Regions from separate parts of the Homo sapiens genome. Here region 2 is linked to region 1. The links are contacts of gene promoters, found by promoter capture Hi-C in human tissues and cell types (Jung and others, 2019). All regions are on one chromosome and are shown on one strand. The core of a region is centred on a gene start or on the middle of the fragment in contact, and the rest is flanking DNA. Distances in the headings are between cores, read along the strand shown.

What was found. Contacts are between HindIII fragments. The study calls those that stand out against the background at their distance.
Region 2: a contact is called between a fragment that was not itself captured here and the fragment with the promoter of TXNDC15 in region 1, in 1 of the 25 tissues and cell types used here (lymphoblastoid cells).

The regions. Positions count from the first base shown.
Region 1 is chr5:134,872,458-134,876,076 of GRCh38, reverse strand. It overlaps TXNDC15 (thioredoxin domain containing 15), which reads right to left and starts at 1,706. Exons shown (of 5, transcript NM_024715.4): 1 at 1,547-1,706. The coding sequence starts at 1,649. LOC124901071 (a long non-coding RNA gene) reads left to right here and starts at 679. Exons shown (of 2, transcript XR_007058943.1): 1 at 679-833; 2 at 945-1,246. RefSeq lists enhancers at 1,071-1,140, 1,034-1,739, 1,671-1,960, 1,981-2,030 and a silencer at 1,321-1,430. The HindIII fragment of the contact is 4,499 bases long and covers 733-3,619 here.
Region 2 is chr5:134,605,549-134,609,167 of GRCh38, reverse strand. SAR1B (secretion associated Ras related GTPase 1B) reads left to right here. Exons shown (of 7, transcript NM_016103.4): 6 at 665-796; 7 at 2,102-3,619. The coding sequence ends at 2,218. Among named protein-coding and RNA genes, the nearest start is that of SAR1B, 25 kb to the left of the region's middle. The HindIII fragment of the contact is 3,877 bases long and covers 22-3,619 here.

The DNA of each region.
Region 1 (3,619 bases), core at 457-2,956:
TTCTGGCTGTATGACCTTGTCAAAGGACTTATTGGCTCTGAGTCTTAAGTTACTTCTATAAAATGAGCATGATAACATCTACTGCATATGCATTTAAAAATTACTAAGGCCAGGCACGGTGGCTCAAGCCTGTAATCCCAGCACTCTGGGAGGCCGAGGTGGGTGGATCACCTGAGGTCAGGAGTTCCAGACCAGCGTGGCCAACATGGTGGACCATCATCTCTACTAAAAATACAAAAATTAGCCCAGTGTGGTGGCAGGCACCTGTAATCCCAGCTACTCAGGAGGCTGAGGCACGAGAATCGCTTGAACCCGGGAGTCAGAGGTTGCAGTGAGCCAAGATCGCGCCACTGCACTCCAGCCTGGGCAACAGAGCGAGACTCCATCTCAAAAAAAAATAAAAATAAAAATTACATAAACCGGGAGCAGTGGCTCACATCTGTAATCCCAGCACTTTGGGAAACAGGTGGGAGGATCACTTAAGCCCAGGAGTTCAAGGCTGCAGGGAGCCATGATGGGCCACTGCACTCCCGCCTGGGCAACAGAGCAAGCCCTCATCCCTTAAAAAAACAAAAACAAAACAGTAAAGATTCCAAAAGATGATGCTCGTAAAGCACTGAGCACAGCATCTGGTACACAGTGAGCGCTTTCATTCATGGTAATTGTGTTACTATGACTCACCCTTCTCCACAACTCTCTGCTGTCCTGCCTCCATCCAGGACACCCCAGGGAAAAGAAAGACCTGCCTATTCCTGTTAAGGTCTAAATGACAAGCGAGACCGAGGGTCTGGACTTTAACAGGACTATGAGGAGTGGGGTGAAGGAGCATGAAAGTAAGGCCTCCACTCTCCACCCTCGCCATGCCTCTAGAGTGGCTGCCTTCCCTACCGGCAAGTTGGGGGTTACCGGGAGTCTCCCGTGTTTCTCGTCTGTTTTTCATGCAGGGAGCTGAGCAAGACTGGCCTCCTTAAGACAGTGGTCCAGCAGCGTGGACTCCAGACTGGGCTTTGGCGTCAGAGAGACAGGCTTCTGCCACGTATCAGAAGCGCAAACTTAGGCGGGGCCTGAGCATCTTCATCTGTGAAATGGAGACACTAAACGGAACCGATCTGACAGGGTTTGTGGGAGCATTAAATGGGATAATGATGTAAATAAAGCACGATGCACAGTTCCTGGCTCCTAATACGGCCACAACAATGTCGGTATTTGATATAATGTTATTAATAATAAATTGCTTATCACCAGAGGGTATGCCTCAGCAGCGCTTACCGCACTGTCCCTCCTGGCTACCAGCCACGGGCTGAGGGCGGCCTGAACGCGGCCCAACCACCCCCGGGCTCCCGTCCACCGGCCCTCAGCCCACCGGCCCCCTTTCGCGGGCCACCAGCGGGCGGTGCGCGGGGAGAGAAGTCGGGGAGACGCGCCCGGGGAGACGCCAAGAAGGGGCGAGTCGCGCACCGCCGGCCTTCGCGCAGGTCCAGAGCGTCGCCCGGGTGGACCTCAGCTCGCCCCATCATCTCATGCACCGCCCCCGGCCCACACTCACCCTCCACGCCGCGGACGGGAAGTCCCAGCACCCACAGCAATACTTGCCACCAGCCGAGGAGCCGCATGACGCGGGGCGGTCGTCGACCGGCAGCCGGGACCATTGCCCAGGCCGAGAGGCAATCGGCGCACGGCTACGCGAGTCGTGCTGCCAGCCGGAGGAAGGCTGGGGGAGGAGAGCCTGGGAGCGCGGGCGCGGCCCCGCGCCGCCATCTTAACACCTGGCAGCTGTGGCGGGCGCCATCTTGGAGTCGGGCGGACGGCCTCTAGCCGCTGGCCGTCGGCGCTGGACTGGAGACCTCTTTAGGAGCTAAGCGCCAGACGTTGCAGGTCGTTTTGAACTCTGCTGACCCCAGAGTGCAGAGCATGGCTCTGGCAGAGGCCCATGGCCTCCTTTCTTCCCTCGGAAGTCAGAGCTTGGCTACTTGAAGCACTGCGCCCGCCTAAGGAGGGTTTTCCACGCTTCATTCCCAGAGCCAGAAAGGCCCAGGAGCCTTCCTGTTCTAGTGTCCCATCGAGGTGCAGAAACTTTGGAGGCTGCAAATCTTCTAATCGCTTGCCTAACCTGTGCTCCCCTACCTAGGGTTGCCACATAGAATACCTGATACCCAGTTATATTTGAATTTCACATAATGAATATTTTTTACTATAACCCTTATAGTATAAGGGATATACCTTAAAACTGAGCATCCTGTAACTTCGTGACATCTGGCAACCCTAACCCTACCTATCCACTCAGGGCAGGAGAGGTTGGTTTTAACTGATTTACCTTGCAGGGCAATCTCTTTTTAATCATGGTTGGGGCCGTGAGCATCATTGGCTCTGGCTCATGGTGGAGGTGGAGCCACCTCGAGCATAAAGTAGATAGGAAAGGGCTTAGAATGAAGAAAGCATAGATGGGGAGATGAGGAACAGGGCTCTGCATTCCCAAGCAAACGCACAGAGCGGGAGTCTTAAGAGAAAATTCTTGGAATAGAGAGGATGACACCACTAATTGGGGTATTTTGCCGGGGGGCCTGCTAAAATGGAATAAGGCAAGCTTTAAGCAGCCACCAGTCAGTGCTAAATCAGTGCAGAGTGCAGCTTTTCAAACTTATGAGGTTGAAAAAATAGAAACTGATTTAAAATACATCAGTCTATTGGTTAACATAGCAATGGTAAGGGGAACCTGTGCTTTTTGGCCGCTTGGTGAATCCCAACTTCAGCACATGTGATAGTTCACAGTCAGCAGGTTATGTAACTTAAAGTTAAGTTTCTTCAGCTGTAAAGTGGAAATGACGTTATATAGAGTCTTATAGATGAAATGAGATGTAAAGTGATGAGCACAGTGTCCTGGGGCACAGGAAGCATTTCAAAGTGGTAGGCATTATTAATTGAATAATACAATTCTGATGGTGTGGCCATAGTCCCCTTATCTCTATGCCCATCAAAAAGACACTGTTAGGCCAGAAAGATGCATCATTAATCTGTCCCTGTGGATGATTCTTTTATTCTAAATACGTTGGTATGGTTTTGCTGTTGTAGATCCTCAAGTGCCATCTTGTGGGTCCAGAAGAATATGAAACAATGGACATGGATAAAAGAGCCCACAGTTCTAGAGCTTATTACTAGTCATCATTTCGCTAAGTACCTCCCTCACCCCTAACAGTGGAACAACAAACCTTTCCTTTTTAAACTATCTTTCTCATACCCCCATACATGATTTGAAGGTGCATGAAAAGCCAACAGGACAGAGCACCAAAAGGATTTATGACTAATGAAAAGGAAGCTGATCTGGATACTCCAACATGGATGCCCTGTGGTTACTACTCCTTCCTTTTTATTATCTCCTTTCCTTTCCTGTATGTGTGTTTGTTTGATTTTTTTATTTTTTGAGACAAGAGTTTCGCTCTTGTTGCCCAGGCTGGAGTGCAATGGCGCGATCTTGGCTCACTGCAATCTCCACCTCCCCGGGTTCAAGCAATTCTCCTATCTCAGCCTCCCAAGTAGCTGGGATTACAGGCATGCGCCACCACGCCCGACTAATTTTATATTTTTAGTAGAGATGGGGTTTCACCATGTTGGTCAGACTGGT
Region 2 (3,619 bases), core at 711-3,210, 270 kb after region 1:
GGCATATGTAGCTACCTCCCCTCCAGTATCCCAGGTCAGATATTTTGTAAAGGGGCCCAACAGCAGCAGGCAAGGTCAGCACCAGATCTGGGGCCACAGAGTAAGCAGGTCCATGATTTGATTGAAGGTTGATCATACCATGGCTCTGCCCAGAGCAGGCAAACAAATACTTGTACGTGTGGAAAAGTCCAGGTAGGTTCTATGGTTACAAAACAAGGACAGAGAATGCCTGAGTTCCTACTTTGTTCCAGAGACTGTGCGTATTACTTGATTTAATTCTCAATTTCATAGGGTGGATGCTACTGTTCCTAATTCTCTCTAGAGCTTCAGTCAGGCTAACTTGCCCAAAGTCACATCTCAAAAGCAGTAGAGCCAGAAGTGAAACCACATCTGTTCACTTCTAAGGTGCTGGCTCTATACGTTCTATGTCACTCCTTTAAAGGATGAGCAGAGTAAACATTTACAGGAAGAGCCTTAGGAAGACAGAAGAATTTAGCTTATGGTTTCATTGAGGTCACTTTAAAATGTGGGGAAAGTTTGACAAAGAACGTTGGTATGACATGATATGGTAGAAAATGAGTCCTTTATTGTTTTATCATATCAAAATAAGCTCTTTGGATGGTTTCATATCAACTCTTGTTTTGTATTGTTTTGTTTTTTTCAGTCACTAATGACAGATGAAACCATTGCTAATGTGCCTATACTGATTCTTGGGAATAAGATCGACAGACCTGAAGCCATCAGTGAAGAGAGGTTGCGAGAGATGTTTGGTTTATATGGTCAGACAACAGGAAAGGTAAAAAAAAAAAAAAAATTATGATGGGTGTGTTTAATTCTACAGTACAAATGTCTTCTTAAATTACTATTGTCCAACTATACAAGCCCATTATCATTTTCTTAAAGAAAACTGTCATTTATACCTGTGGGTCTTTTTAATGTCCTCATTTCTTTCTACCATGGAATGAAACATTTTCTTGGTGACAACAAAAATGTCAAGGATGAGTTATGCCTAAGGCTTGTGCTTATAGGAAACTAAATTAAAGCTTTCAAAGTTATTTATCATACATTTTCAGAATTAGCCACCAAACGATATATTTGAGTGTTTAAGTATACCAGTAGTGTGTTTAGGCCCTGAGTTTACCAGAGATAAATAAGACATAAACTTGGAATATTTTACGGTTTTCTGAACATATACTTTATAATAAGCTTTAAGACGGATTGTTTTGGTATTCACTTTTCCTAGGATTTATTTTGGGGGAAACATCAGCATTGAAAAAATCCAGATAAACAGTGGAAGAACCCCAGAGATTTACAAAATTTTTTTAGTTTACATATACTATTTCAGGGTGGAGAAATACTGCAGCATATAGCAGGAGGCTCTTTTTTTTTTTTTTTGAGATGGAGTTTTGCTCTTGTTGCCCAGGCTGGAGTACAATGGTGCAATCTCGGCTCATTGCAACCTCTGCCTCCCAGGTTCAAGCGATTCTCCTGCCTCAGCCTCCCTGGTAGCTGGGATTACAGGCGTGTGCCAGCACGCCCAGCTAATTTTGTATTTTTGGTAGAGACGGGGTTTCTCCATGTTGGTCAGTCTGGTCTCGAACTCCTGACCTCAGGTGATCCGCCCGCCTTGGCCTCCCAGAGTGCTGAGATTACAGGCATGAGCCACCACGCCCGGTCCGCAGGAGGCTCTTAAGTCAGACAAAGTAGACTTTGGTCTGTTTTCTGTCTTCTTTTTTATAAATTAGCTTGATATTAATTTTAGGAAATGCTTTGTTTGGTCATAAACCTTCTCAGGGAATGTTTGTCTTTAATATTAGTGAAGCCAGTTTGGATTTTTTTCTAAGTCAGATTATTTTTATTCTTGGGTATCTTGCAAGCTAACCTCTTTCCCACTGAGTGGCCATCCTGCCCTAAGGTAGAGTGAGAGAAGGAGGCTTCTTGTGTGTTCATGGGGCTTGGATGCCAAGCAGCCACGACTTTATCACAGTCATGGATTTATCACAGCCATTCTTTGTTCTAAAATAGAACCTATAATTCTGCTGGGATGTGGGGCTTTATTAATTTTATAAAATTCCAACGAAATGTCTCTCTTCTATTCTAGGGGAGTATATCTCTGAAAGAACTGAATGCCCGACCCTTAGAAGTTTTCATGTGTAGTGTGCTCAAAAGACAAGGTTACGGAGAAGGCTTCCGCTGGATGGCACAGTACATTGATTAACACAAACTCACATTGGTTCCAGGTCTCAACGTTCAGGCTTACTCAGAGATTTGATTGCTCAACATGCATAACTTGAATTCAATAGACTTTTGCTGGTTATAAAACAGATGTTTTTTAGATTATTAATATTAAATCAACTTAATTTGAATGAGAATTGAAAACTGATTCAAGTAAGTTTGAGTATCACAATGTTAGCTTTCTAATTCCATAAAAGTACTTGGTTTTTACAGTTTATAATCTGACATCACCCCAGCGCCATTTGTAAAGAGCAACTTTCCAGCAGTACATTTGAAGCACTTTTTAACAACATGAAACTATAAACCATATTTAAAAGCTCATCATGTTAAATTTTTTATGTACTTTTCTGGAACTAGTTTTTAAATTTTAGATTATATGTCCACCTATCTTAAGTGTACAGTTAATAATTAGCTTATTCAATGATTGCATGATGCCTTACAGTTTTCAATAACTTTTTTTCTTATGCAAACGTCATGCAATAAAACAAACTCTAATGTTTGGCATCCTTGTTGGGCAAATGTTTCATTTAAATGTGTCTTATCTAGCTAGTATACTCTGAAAATTTGAGTATTTAATATTAGGCATATGAAGTGGTTGTTGGGAAAGGAGATTCCTTCAGAATATTTAGAATAGCGTTTAAGGCTCTCAAGGCTTAGGTATTTACCATGAGATGGTTGTGGTCAGTTGCACCTGATACCATGTATCCCTGAATCATGTGTATTTTTATTAGTAATGCAGCCACTACCATTGCTGATGGGGTCTGTGTCCTAGTCCCTGTGGGATTGGCCTTCTGAAGAAAAGCACATTTATGGTACACAAGGTTGATTCTCAGTTTGGTAGGCTCTATAGTTCCATCCCAGCTGTCTAATTCTGAAGTGCTCCAGTCTTATTGGTGCCCAATGGGGTAATCTGTGCCTCTTCCCCAAAAGCAATGACAGGCACCAGTGTCTCCACATTTAGATATATTCCCAGTCTCTGTACATTTAACAGTACTCTCTGGGGCAAGCAATAAGTAGGACCTTGTGTGCAGTTTCATTGTAGAGACATGTATATCTGAGGAATAAAACAGCTTGTTCTGTGTCAGTCTGAGATATGTGGAGATTTTGTTCCTATCCTATAGCTCTTTTGTATTCTTTGGCATATTTTATATCCTGGTAGAAGAAAACAAGTGCTTGTTTCCAATTTTCTTTTTTCTTATTTGCTCTCAGGTAGTTCTTACTCCATACAACAAAGACTTTTTGTTTGTTGGGCTTTTTTTTTTTTTTTTTTTTTGCTCTGTTTCATTTTGTTTTAGAGACGGGGTTTCACCATGTTGTCCAGGCTGGTCTCAAACTCCTGACCTCAAGTGATCTGCCCGCCTTGGCCTCCCAAAGTTCTGGGATT